2 separate regions of the Homo sapiens genome follow, and region 1 is linked to region 2. The links are contacts of gene promoters, found by promoter capture Hi-C in blood cells and fetal thymus (Javierre and others, 2016). All regions are on one chromosome and are shown on one strand. The core of a region is centred on a gene start or on the middle of the fragment in contact, and the rest is flanking DNA. Distances in the headings are between cores, read along the strand shown.

Region 1 (6,459 bases), core at 930-3,429, 250 kb before region 2:
GTACTGAGAGAGTGAGACCAGTAGTTTAAGGTCTAAAATTTAAAACCCAGGAAATGTCTGAGGCCATGTTTTTCAACATGTGGAGAAAACGAGTGTCCAACAAAAGATAATGAAGCTGACATACAGAATCTTAGCCGTGATGAATGAGACAACATTTGAATGTCATTAACATCCCAGTTTCTGGTGTTCCTGACGGCCAGCTGGATCTCTGCACCTATAGTACATTCAACTACACTTTCAATTTTGTGAAACTCCTCAGTCTTGGTCCAATGAACCCTCCCCTTTTTTGTAACCAGCTTAGATTTACCCTTGAGACGGGAATGCCAGGCAGATTGCTTTCTAATTCCTGGAGGTGATAAATAATTAATTTGTATGTTACACTGGTCAGATCAGTTCAGCAGGGAGTTAAGAGAGGGAAGGATATAATACAGTGGTTTAGGTTATCTTGGTCCCGTTCTCTTCACCCCTCACCTAGATGATGCAAGCCACCCTTCCCCAACTGGATTGAGGTCCTAAGTAGCCCCAGTTACAATGTGACTACACTTTCTCAAAGTACGTGTCTGAGCAGCAGAAAGTTAGTTTTGTGGCCTCTGGATGAAGTGAGGGGGAAAAGAGACCAGATTGATAGGCTTTGACAATAACATTCTCCTTTTCTAAAACATGCCCTGCAGTGCTGTCTTCAGGGCTGTCAGCGTGTACATTTTGCCACTAAAGACAGTGAAAGAAGTAAAAGGATCACTTCAGGGAACTGACATTCCAAAAGGAACATCCATCCTGTCACCTCCCAGCACTCTCCGGGAACTGATGGTCAAAATCAGAGTTCCCAGGCATGTGACATTGAGGGGCACTGATCCCAGATGAAGACAGTGTCAAAGATCATCACGTTTCCCTGACTGCTATGCCGCCAAGAATGTCAAGATCTGTACGTCTGCTTTCAGGACATGGATTTACCATTTTGGATAGTTTTTAGTCTCTTACTGACACCTTAGAAATCAAATTACTCTGCTAGTGCCAGAGGCCTTAGCTCACTGATGGAGCTACTAAATCAAGACTAATTGAGCTAACAAATATGCTTGAATAGTGCTTCCTTGAGAAAATGCAACCTTCAGAAGACTTGACATTTACTTCTGACTTGGCCAGACTTATTGACAATTTTCTGAGACTGCTTTTGATTTATATTGATTGAAAGAAATACGGAATGAATTTTAAGATTTCAAATAAACCTTTTCCCTGATTCAAACACCAATAGAAACACTAAATGGAAATTTATAAGTAGAACATGAGTCTAACCCAAGTCAGTAACAATTGAAAGCTTTTATTGCCTGACAGCAGCTTTCAGACCTATAGGAAATGGTTGGAGGGGTTTGGTGCCGTTCATAATGGGCCAAGTGTCAAGGTCACAGATGCCTTCCAGAAATTATTACAGTTGTTTGGCTACTGTGTTGGCAGTATCAGCAGGACAACTAAGAAGTAGAATGTTACCAACAGCACACATTTCTTTCTTAGTCCTAGATGTGGTGCTTTGAAGACAGAAATGAAGTTGAGGAAAAATAACTTTTACTGTTTCTGCCAACTTGACATAACTTCAAAACTGTCAGTTTAGCTATTTTAATCACAATGAAACAAATATTAAGGAAAAAATTAGAATGTGCTTTTAATAAGTGGATTGTAACTTTTTGTCTTGATGTTTTCAGGGTTTTTTGTTTGTTTGTTGTCTGTTTTGAGACAGGATCTCACTCTGTTGCCCAGGCTGGAGTGCAGTGGCACAATCACAACTCATTGCAGCCTCTACCTCCCAGGGTCAAGTGATCTTCCCACCTCAGCTTCTTAAGTATCTAGGACTACAGGTGCGTGCTACCATGCCCCACTAATTTTTTACTTTTTGTAGAGATGAGGTCTCTCCATGTTGCCCAGCCTGGTCTCAAGCTCCTGGGCTCAAGCGATTCTCCTGCCCCGGCCTCCCAAAGTGCTAGGATTACAGGCCCGAGCCACCACACCCAGCCAGATTGTAAAGTTAATGGCAAGAAGGAAATATTTTAACATAATGCAATGTGATACAATACAACAAATCCACCAGAACTGTGTAACAGCCCAGAGAGAGAAGAAATTTTCCTGAAGACTGACAGGCAGCATGCTGATATGCTAAACAGACTGATATTTTAATCAATGCCCTAAAATAAGGACACTAAAATAAGCTCAAAAGATATTGAGATTTTCTTTTAAATGAATTATTCATAGGCCAAATAGCAAATTAAAAATAACATTATTGGCCAAAAACTCTGAAAGAAAAAGTAACCACGGTTAGTACAGTCAGCTGTAACTCAGAAGAACTGGACTCTTCTTTTTTGTTACTAGCTTTATCACTCACTCACTAGTTTCTTTCATAGTTTATCCAAAAACTCCTGTGTCTATATACATCGGATGACAGAGATACTTTATCAACTATGAATAATGATATGGAGCTAATCAACATGGAAAATAACCTGTGAACCACACGATTCATTTTTCTTCTTCTGACTTTGATAGAATAAGAGAACATGATTATCTTCTAGGAGGTCAGCTCTGAATATCCCCAGCTTCCTTGTTTAGCTTTTATAAACTATGAATTTTCCTATGCCCCAAGAGAGTAATTCTCCTGAAGCACAGCTTGAAGAGGCAGCGTGGTTAGATTAGGAGGGAAAAACCTTGTAATTGGAGTTTGGATTCCAGATCTACCCTGGTTGAGCTTATTTATTACTACTTCATTCGTTTCCAATGTAGATAGACTCTGAGTAGCATCGAGGCACAAGGGGCAGCTCCATTGGGTTACAGGTAGAGCTGAGCTACTGATTCCCTCAAGCCTTGCACTGGTTGAGTGGGGCCTGGGATAGCTGGAGTCCCCAGGCCTCTTGGCCACAAGCAGACTCCATACTATGCTTGACCCCTAATATACTATTAAAAATAATATTAGTTTCTATGAGATCCGTGATATTGCAAACACTAAGTTGTCTCACATTGGCATTTCCCAGTCTGGAAATACAAAGGCTGAAATAGGATCAAAGCTTTAAAAAGCCTGGTGAACACAGTGACAACTTGCCCCTTTGGGTTTTCTATACTTTTCTCACTTTCCTCCTCTATGCATCATAGTTTTCCTCATTGCCATCACAGAAATTATTCTAAACACATGCCCTCCTGAAATCCCACCAGTGTTGCCTATTGTCTACAGAGAAATGTCTAAACATGGCCTATGAGGTTTGACTTTCTCTAGCTTGCACCTATTTCTCTGGGCTCATCTCTTATCACTGCCACTCAAACCCCCGCAGCAATATCACACGGCTTCTAGCTCCTTGGATACCCTGTGCTTTGTCATGCCTCCATGCTTTGCTCAAGCTGTGCCTTCTGATTAGAATGCACATGCCTGGTAAATTGCAATCTTTCTTTCATATTTCAACTGCTCCCTCCTTTTTGATTACCTGTCCACCTTGAACATACTTCTGTGATTTCACTTATTGAGGTATTATGATTTGCAAGTCTGACTCCCCCACCAGGACGGGGACCATGCCTTATTTGTCTCAGTAACTCTGAGGGCTGGCACCATAGGCAGTGGTATAATGTTTGCTGGGCAGATGGACACACTGACAGATGGTTGAATGGATGGATGAATTCAAGTTAATGTGGTCTTGTTCACCAAATCTCAAAACTCTGGCACAAGAGCTTTGTGAATAAAAAGATGTACGATTTTACATAATGCACACTTGTTTGGTACTTGGCATGCCACAATTTATCCTTTTATGTTAATCTCCTGTTTCTCCAAGAATATCATAAATTATCAGTACCAGTGAGGTATGCTATAGTTGGTGCAAGACTTGATTCTTCTCAGACTTTGTATTGCAAATATCTGGTCTCTAAAACAAGTCCAGCCACCTATCGCACCAGGGTTCTTCTTGGGAACAGCATTTTAAAAATAGGTGGCTGGTTATAACTGTGTGGAGATTAAGAATTGTTAGCAAGGCCAAAGGACTGCCCTCCTCTAATTTCTGGGGCATTCATATGAATTAGTAAGAACTTTCTCTTATCTTTACTTCTGAATGCAGAGTTTGGCTGAGCACAGTAAATAGAGGGACACTCAAATGGCTCAGTTTCCTCCCTAATTCAAAGCCTCATCTCTGGATAAAATAATGGAGTTTAATTTAAGTATTTAGATTTTTTAAAGTGATTGCCAAAAGAAAAGTGGTTGTTACACAAAAGAAAATTATCAGAACAAAACAGCCTTCTCAAACTGAGCCAGACTTCTCTTTCTTCTTTATTCTTTTCCTCCCAACACCGGGATACAAGAACTATGGTAATTATTGATAGTCTTTTTCTACTGCCATTCTTTCCATCTAAATCAGAGGCACAAAATCATAGAAATACAATTAGCTAGTGAAACAAAGCCATGTGACACCCTCATAAGGAAGCCCTCAGCTTTTTAGCCCTCATCAACTCAGCCCTTGCAATGTCATGTTTTGGGAAATATGGGACTCTTCTAAGCCTATGGGGTTCTTGCTTTCAGGAGGCTTTTTTTTTTTTTTTTTTCTGCATAACTAGAGGAGTGTCTTTTTGAGTTTGGACTTTCTAACCTTGAGAAGGAGTTGACGTGCTTCTTCACTGAGTGTGAAATGAGCAGATGGTGTTGTTTCACTCCAATTTGTTTTGCATGGACTGAGGAGAAGGCTGTGGGGGAAGGGATAAATGTGTTCTATTCCTGACTGCTAAACACAACTTATTGGCACATAAAAGCCACTTCACTAACATTGGATCATCTACTTATTAATAAAGACTGGAGCTTCACTTATTCTACTTCAAGCTAGAAGTTAATATCACCATATTTTTCTCTTTGTCCAGAAGGAACTATATTCTCATTACAGCACAAAACAACGTATTTAGACTGTTTGCCCAAGCTGATAATTGAAGGAGTCTGTAGTGGGCCCTTAAGTCACCCAACACACACTCTTTTTTTAAAAGCCAGTTGCCCCTGTGCAGGCAGGTTCACCACATTTTTAGCTCTACATTCAGCTCACCTACACCCAACTCCATACCCCAAAGATGTTCCTGGGGAACCAAGATAAGAGCCTAACTATTCTCATGGAAAAGTTGCTAAATTCCCAGTGATCACCCAGCTAGCTCTCTATCTATACTGCTAGGGGAAATATGGGCTGGAAAAGCGGTCACAAGATTTCACCTTCCACCTTATGCTAGGAAGTATGCGGAACTTCTACCAGGTAAGCAGGTGGAGACCTTTGTTCAATCTTATCCAGGGAAGGAGGCACCCAGGGCTAAGAGGGGGCTATCTGATCTGTCAGCAGTCAGCTGAAGGTGGTGTGTGCTCGGTTTCTACCACACAACACCTTCATGCAGCTACAGCACCTTTTTATTTTTATTTTTTTTGAGACGGAGGCTTGCTCTGTCGCCCAGACTGGAGTGCAGTGGTGCTATCTCGGCTCACTGCAACCTCTGCCTCCTGGGTTCAAGCTGTTCTCATGCCTCAGCCTTCCAAGTAGCTGGGATTACAGGTGCCCACCACCACACCTGGTTAATTTTTGTATTTTTAGTAGAGACGGGGTTTTGCCATGTCGAGCAGGCTGGTCTCAAACTCCTGACCTCAAGTGATCCTCCCACCTCGACCTTCCAAAGCGCTGGGATTATAGGCGTGAGCCACCGCACCCGGCCTACAGCACCTTTTTATGTCCCACCTTTTCATCCACTGGCACAAAAGCATCAGTAATTAAGATGGAATTTGCTGAAGATTTCTTTGGGGAGAGGGGAGGAATGGAGGAGAGAGTTAACATCCATACCACAGGGAAACACCCTCAGACATCATCATCTAGATGAGTATTGTGTCTCTCTCTTTAGCAGTTCTCCACTATGTTTCATCCACACTGCTCTAACCAGCTTGGCCCCCAAATTTCTAGAGTCCCCTCAGTAAAAGCTTTGTGGTTATTTAGTAGTAGTAGTAGTAGTAGTAGTAGTAGTAGTAGTAGTAGTAGTAGTAGTACTTTAAGACGGAGTCTCGCTCTGTCGCCCAGGCTGGAGTGCAGTGGCGCCATCTCCGCTCACTGCAAGCTCCGCCTCCCGGGTTCACGCCATTCTCCTGCTTCAGCCTCCCGAGTGGCTGGGACTACAGGCGCCCACCACCACACCTGGCTAATTTTTTTAAAAAGTATTTTTAGTAGAGACGGGGTTTCACCGTGTTAGCCAGGATGGTCTCGATTTCCTGACCTCGTGATCCGCCCACCTCAGCCTCCCAAAGTGCTGGGATTACAGGCGTGAGCCACCATGCCCGGCCAGCTTTTTGGCTATTGAATCTGTCACCCTCCTTAGAAGGCAAATTAGTAGACTCTTTGTTATTATCTATGGCCATCCTCTTCGAGTCTCACCTCCACTCCAAAGGACATTGAACAATATCTAACATTCTCCCCAGTAGACAATCTTGTTAATACA
Region 2 (6,298 bases), core at 3,679-6,178:
AGCTCTCAGAACCAACCATAGCAACAGCAGGGAATGTTTTGAATTCCAGCATGTAGCAGACACTGTGCTAGACTGTCTTAAGATAACTCTACCTCCCACAACCATTCTGCAAAGTAGGAATTATTTTGCATATAAGGAAACTGAAGAACAGAAAAGTTAAATGACTTACCTGAGGGCACACAGATAGCAGGTGACAGAGTGAAGATTTGCAGCCAGGAATCAAATCCCACCTTCTTTCCATTGAAGTATGAACTGTTGATTGCAGCAACCATTCACCACCCCTCCCTTCATCCAGAACCCTGATTTTGTTAAGATGTACTGCCTCTTCCGTGCTGTCCACCCTAGGGATGGCAGAGCAAAAGACAGAACAAGCATGGGCCCCTGAGGACTCTCTCTGGCAATGCTGCCAGGCCATCCCAGTTAGATGTTTTTGCTTCCTTTTATTTATTTTTCCTTTATTTTAGTTTTAGGCCCAGTGGTTGTAGAACTGCTAGGGTTCTTGAATCAAAAAGAAAATGTAGTTAGAAGGCAAACTTCCCATTTCCTTCCAAACCATTGCAAGTAATACTGAAACCCAAACCAGATCACTACAGCAGATGCTACAAGGGCTACAACAGGACTGGTTTACGCAGCCTGCAGAAGAGAACCCAAGCAGGAAGGCCTGTGAGTGTAAAGGGCTCCAGCAGGCAGCCTGGTAGCAGTGTTCCGGGAAGCCTGAGATGGCTAAGAGCACTGTGAGGGTGGAGGCCTCTGCTTTATCCTGCCCCGATTCATTCGCCCTATGAAGCTCATAGGTCCCTGCCAGACAGAAGCCCACACAGTCCTGTGCCTCCTGCCTTTCTAGGCTCAGCGCTTCTTCCTGGTCCAAAGCAGTTAATTTCCAAAGTGAAAATTCCGGGCCACTATGTTGTCACATCCCCTCAAGCTACAACCCGGTTCCCAGTCTGTGTAGGAAGTTCTATTACTATCAAGAAACTCTCATGTTCTTCTTACTGCTTTGCTGCTGACGTTCCTCTCATCTGGCTCCTGTGCCTCAACACCCCTGCCTCTCCCCTGCACTGGCCAGAGGCAGTCCATCCTCTGAGCACTTCTAGTCCCCTCCTGACCTCACATTAGTGAGGAGGATGTCTGATTGCCAAGGGCTATGGCTACAGACACAAAGCTTTCTCTTTTCGGGGGCTGGGATCCTTTATTCCATCTCTTCAATCTCTTTGGAGTTTTCTGTAATCTTCAAAATTGTGCTCTGACTCTGGCCTTTGGGCATGGCCTGTGGTGGGCTGTGTCCCTGGCATCAACAAAGGCTTTGACACAGTGTGGCCTTCAAAGAGCAGCTTGGATGAAACCCCAGAGGCCTGGAGCTGCAAGGAAAGTGGGTTAGCCCAGCTTTCACAGGGACCATTTGGTCCCACTTTAGTTTCTGCTCCACGTGGGAACAAATGTGCCCCTTAAGGCCTTTCAGATTGCGGGGGTGACGCTGATGGGTATTTATGTTAAAGCCAAAACCTTCAGCTAATTTGGAAGCTGACAGGATTCTGCTAATTCTTTGTGTTCATACAGGATCTGCTCCCTGGCCTTCCAGGTCAGGATCTTGGGTGGGGCACCTGGAGCCTCCATTTGCCTCTGAATTTTCTAGAACCAAATTGCTTTTCTTCTCTCATTTCAAGGTCCTAGGAGAGAGAACCAATAGGAAAGGCCATGTCTGGAAGCAATTTGGGTGGGGGCGGGGGGTGTCTTGAGGCCTGCCCAGCCCAGCCCTTTCCTCTTTGTTCAGCCTAGGCAAAGGAGCCACAGCTGCCCACTCAGAGCTGTTTTAATTGTCCCCAGAAACCTAACTTCTAGAAAAACAATTGGCTTGCAAAGGATTCCAGACTCTCTGAACAGATAGATGATCAGAATCTTTTCTGATTTTCGTTAAGGAAATATTTCAAGAGGGACTGTGGCACCAAGACAGTGAATGCCTGCCCCTGAGCCCCGATGAGAAGGAATTAAGGGCCCTGTGACTCTGTATGTGACCAGAAGCCACATCAGGCTCCGCCAGGCCTGGCAACTGTCCCTGGTGTTCTGTTCTTCACCTCCTGCGGCTCCTGACTCTTCAGTTCTCAGTTGGAATTGAGGTCAGCTCTCTCGTTTCCTTGTCTGGCCCCCTTCACCACCCACAATGCAAACCCACACTGAGTGACTAACCAGCAAGAGGCCCACAGCAGGTCCCATAGCAACCAGAGGGGGCCAAGCTTGCTACCACAGCCCACAACATGCCAACACCCCATTTAGACTTTTACATGAGAAATAAACATCCACTTTGTTCAACTGCTGTTGTTTTGTCTCTGTGACTAAATCAACAATTCTGGCAAATCTAGAAAGAAGCAGAAGAATTAGGTGCAAAGTGCTGGAAGTTTAGCAGCCTCTCGTGGGAGCAAGAAAGCCCCAGGCAGGTTTCTGTCCACATCACTTTAATGTGGAGCACTCTCCTAGTCCTCTAGATCTGTCTGTTCTATCACCTTCCCACAGTTCAGCTTCCTGTGCTCCCCAAAACTTCACCTTGGAAACATATTTAACTGGTTCTGACCTTTAGCCTTGTGTGACTTTGTGGGTCCACAGCCAATATCAAATAACTACAGACAACAGAAACTTGGTTAAAATTCTCAATAGAGGGAAATGATCGCTGGACAGTCAGCAGACTCGCTGTTTTCAGGTCAGCTGCTGGCTCAGTCCCCTCTGGGTGCCAGGGAAACCTGACAGCTGAGGGTTGTGAGAAGAAGCAGTTTCTCTAGGAACTGACTGACATGTCTCCCTAAGGAGAGAGAAGTGACAGGCAACTCTAGGGAAGATGGCTTTCATGGCTTCATAAAGATCTGACTGGCTCTTTGGCTTCTTTTCCAAGGTAGCCCAAATCTGTTCCTGTGTGAATATCTTTGTCGAAAGGGATGGCATGGTCAGGTAGGCTGGGTAGGATGAACTGCGGGAAGGTAGATGACCAGGATGGGGAAGTTCTGATGAGGTGGGGCTGAGGAGAATGAAGACTAATGCCCAAGATCAAAGTTAGGGAAATAAAGTTTCGCTGCCAAGTCCAAAGGTCAGGGTCACAGTGGAAAACTGGACACAAAGCCAAGGTCAGGAGCCGAGAGAATTGGAAAAGTGGAAACAAACCAGGGAACAAGACTAGGCCGGGCATTGTGGCTGATGAGAATGAGCTGGTACCCAGCCTAGCTTCACTGTCTCTCAACCTAGCCTCATGCACAGAAAAGTATCAGCGAAGAGAGGGCTGGGTTTAAGTGATGTCACCAAGGGGGAACAAAAGAAAGCAGCGTTTCTCAACCCAGGTCCATAACTCTCGTGTTGTGCACAAGATTGTGTACATTTTCCAGAGTTTGTTAAAGGGAACAGCGCCCCCAAAAGGGTTAAAGTTTGATTGTGGAATAATCTGGTTATCCAGAAGAGAACGATCTCTGCGGGCTCTCCTGTCTCGACGAAGTCCTTTAGTGGCTGAGGGTCTCGGCCACCTTCCAAAGGGGCGGAATCCCCCTGCCTCGCGTACCCCAGGGGTCTCGGCAGCGCCGCTATTCTGTGAGCCTATTCCTCTCAGAAGCGCCGAGCACTAGGCCTGGAAGAGGACAAGTCTAGCAAATGAGGGGACACGGGCGGAGGGAGGGATTAAAAGATGGGGGTGTGATCCGTGCCAATGGGGACACCCACTGGTTCGAATATTAACGCGAGGTTTGTCCGCTTCTTCACAATCTGTCCGTTTCGTTTTACTGCGAAAGCAAATGTGTTCCCATCCCTCTATTTGGGGATACGATTAGAGTTCCGGGAAGGGGGTGCAGCGCCCGGACTGGCACAACCGCCGTTGTCCCACCTCCTCCGGGGCGGCAACACCGCAGTGCCAGGCCTGGGACTGAGGCGTGGGGTCCCCCCTCGCTCCGTCCTGGCGCCGCCCGTCGCCCCGCCCCTTGGGGGGCCCCGTGGCGCACCCTTGTGACGTAGCGCTTGTGTCGACATCGGCGCGCGCCGAGCCCGGAAGAGGCGCGGGCTAGGAAAGGAGTTGGTTCGCGCAGGTGCGGCGCCTGGGTCCCCATGGCGCTGTGGCGCGGCTCCGCGTACGCGGGCTTCCTGGCGCTGGCCGTGGGCTGCGTCTTCCTGCTGGAGCCAGAGCTGCCAGGCTCGGCGCTGCGCTCTCTCTGGAGCTCGCTGTGTCTGGGGCCCGCGCCTGCGCCCCCGGGACCCGTCTCCCCCGAGGGCCGGTTGGCGGCAGCCTGGGACGCGCTTATCGTGCGGCCAGTCCGGCGCTGGCGCCGCGTGGCAGTGGGGTGAGTGCCAACGGGGCCTGGGTCTCTGAGCCTCCGAGGTCGGCCTTGGAGGTCGGGCGGAGCCGCGCAGAAACAGGGCTTCTCAGAGGTCCCCGGGAGGCGCTGCTGTCCGCGCTGGCCCCTTGGCGAGAAGTGTCGGACGTCTGAGTGGAACCCGGTTCGTCACCGCTGCTCTTTCCACTCGGCTGGCCTCTGCGCCTTTCTCTCATCCCGGTAGGACCAGCCCTAACAGCTTCTTGCTAATCCCGCTTTGTCTGACACCTTTCTCCGAGCCTTCTTCCTCGTTCCAACTTTTAGCCCCTTCTCTTCTGGCGACTGTTGTTTTGCAATCAAAGATACTTGACCTTACCCACTATGACAACACTCTTCCTCTTTCTTCTGAACTTCTTGAAGACGCGTGATGTCTGCCTTTACCCACTTTCGAAACGCCGTGTAGTCTAGAAACCACACGACTGTACTGCAACTCCTCTCAGATTTGCCTTTTTGAATCTTCATTATCTACTCTGCAGCCTTCCACGCATTGAACACGCCCTTCTCCGTGAAATTCTTTTCTTCCCCTGACTTCAGTGACACTGCATATTTAAGGTTCTTCCAAATGACACTACCTCCTTTCTTTGTACTTTTCCTTGGGAATGTAATTATTTTCTTTATAGTATTGATACTGTAAACACTAACTTTAGTCCCTGTCTCAGTTCGATTTGACTTTCTTGCCGTAATCTCAGAGTTATGTATAACCACCACATAAAAGCAGGCCCTCTACCATGTAGCTCACTACTTTCTGTGGAGTGTTGGGGCCGGGAGGGGTAAAGTAGAGCAAACTTGGCCTGAAGATTAAATGACATCATTCATGTAATCTCTCTAGCATAGTGCCTGCTTTAAAAAGCATTCGATATTAGCTATAATTTTGGGGTTTTTTTTTTTTTTTTTTTTTGGACACAGGGTCTCTCTCTCTGTCGCCTAGGCTGGAGTGCAGTGGTGCAATCACTGCTCACTGCAGCCTCGAACTCCCGAGCTCAAGAGATCCTTCTGCCTCAGCCTCTGGAGTAGCTGGGACGACAGGCAAGCACCACCACGCCCAGCCAATTTTTTATTTATTTTATTTTTTTTAGTAGAGTCGAGGTCTTGCTATATTGCCCAGGCTGGTCTCGAACTCCTGAGCTCAAGCCAGCCTCCCATCTTGGCCTCCCAAAGTGCTGGGATTAAATTGTCCTTCCTTGCTTTATGCGCGTTCATTCAGCAGATATTCACCAACTACATGGTTAGTGTCAGGTCTGTGCTAGGTTCTTAAGATACAGAGATGGGTGAAGCAAGGCCCCTGTCTCACTTGTTGGAAACATATTATTGTATCAGTCATTTGGGCTGCTAGAACAGAATACCACAAATTAGGTGGATTAAACAACAAATCTGTTTTCTCGTGGATCTGGAGGCTGATAGTCCAAGATCAAGGTGTTGGCAGGATTGGCTTCCGATGTGGCCTCTCTTCCTAGCTTGCAGCCAGCTGGCTTTTCAGTTAGTCTGCGCATGTACACTCCTGGTGCCTCTTATTCTTCTTATGTGGACACTAGGTCCTTTTGGAATAGGGCTCACCCGTATGACCTTATTTAACCTTAACTACTTCCTTAAAGGCCCTACGTCCAAATATAGTCACATTGGGAATTAGGGTTTCAGCATATGAATTGGTGGGGGGTGGACAATTCAATCCATAACAATTATGGTTAGAAGAGGAACAACCCACGAGGACCAGGCAGAAGCCTTAATGCCTTTTACGACCTTACCTTAGAAGCACATAGGAACTCTTCTACCAGAGTCACAGGTCCACCTGGTTTTAAGGGAGGGGACATAGAACAAACCTTGATGGGAGGAGCATCAGTGTCACATTGTGAAAAGAACATTTGGAATGGGGCATCTTATTGCCACCATCTTGGAAAATATATTTTACTACAGTGACTTTCATAGGACAGACACTAAATAAATGAGATTTCTTCAAGCCAAAG

The links. Contacts are between HindIII fragments. The CHiCAGO score rates a contact against its expected background, and 5 or more counts as called.
Region 1: a contact is called between a fragment that was not itself captured here and the fragment with the promoter of ADPGK-AS1 in region 2, in 3 of 17 cell types (total CD4 T cells, naive CD4 T cells and non-activated CD4 T cells). The highest score is 5.9, in total CD4 T cells.

Annotation. Positions count from the first base shown.
Region 1 is chr15:73,032,605-73,039,063 of GRCh38, reverse strand. No RefSeq gene overlaps it. Among named protein-coding and RNA genes, the nearest start is that of NEO1, 17 kb to the left of the region's middle. The HindIII fragment of the contact is 1,729 bases long and covers 1,315-3,043 here.
Region 2 is chr15:72,781,465-72,787,762 of GRCh38, reverse strand. ADPGK-AS1 (ADPGK antisense RNA 1) reads right to left here and starts at 4,928. Exons shown (of 3, transcript NR_040107.1): 1 at 2,567-4,928; 2 at 170-341. It overlaps ADPGK (ADP dependent glucokinase), which reads left to right and starts at 4,005. Exons shown (of 7, transcript NM_001365225.1): 1 at 4,005-4,304. The coding sequence starts at 4,072. RefSeq lists enhancers at 3,480-3,689, 3,740-3,799, 4,560-4,629 and a silencer at 3,850-4,309. The HindIII fragment of the contact is 5,666 bases long and covers 2,234-6,298 here.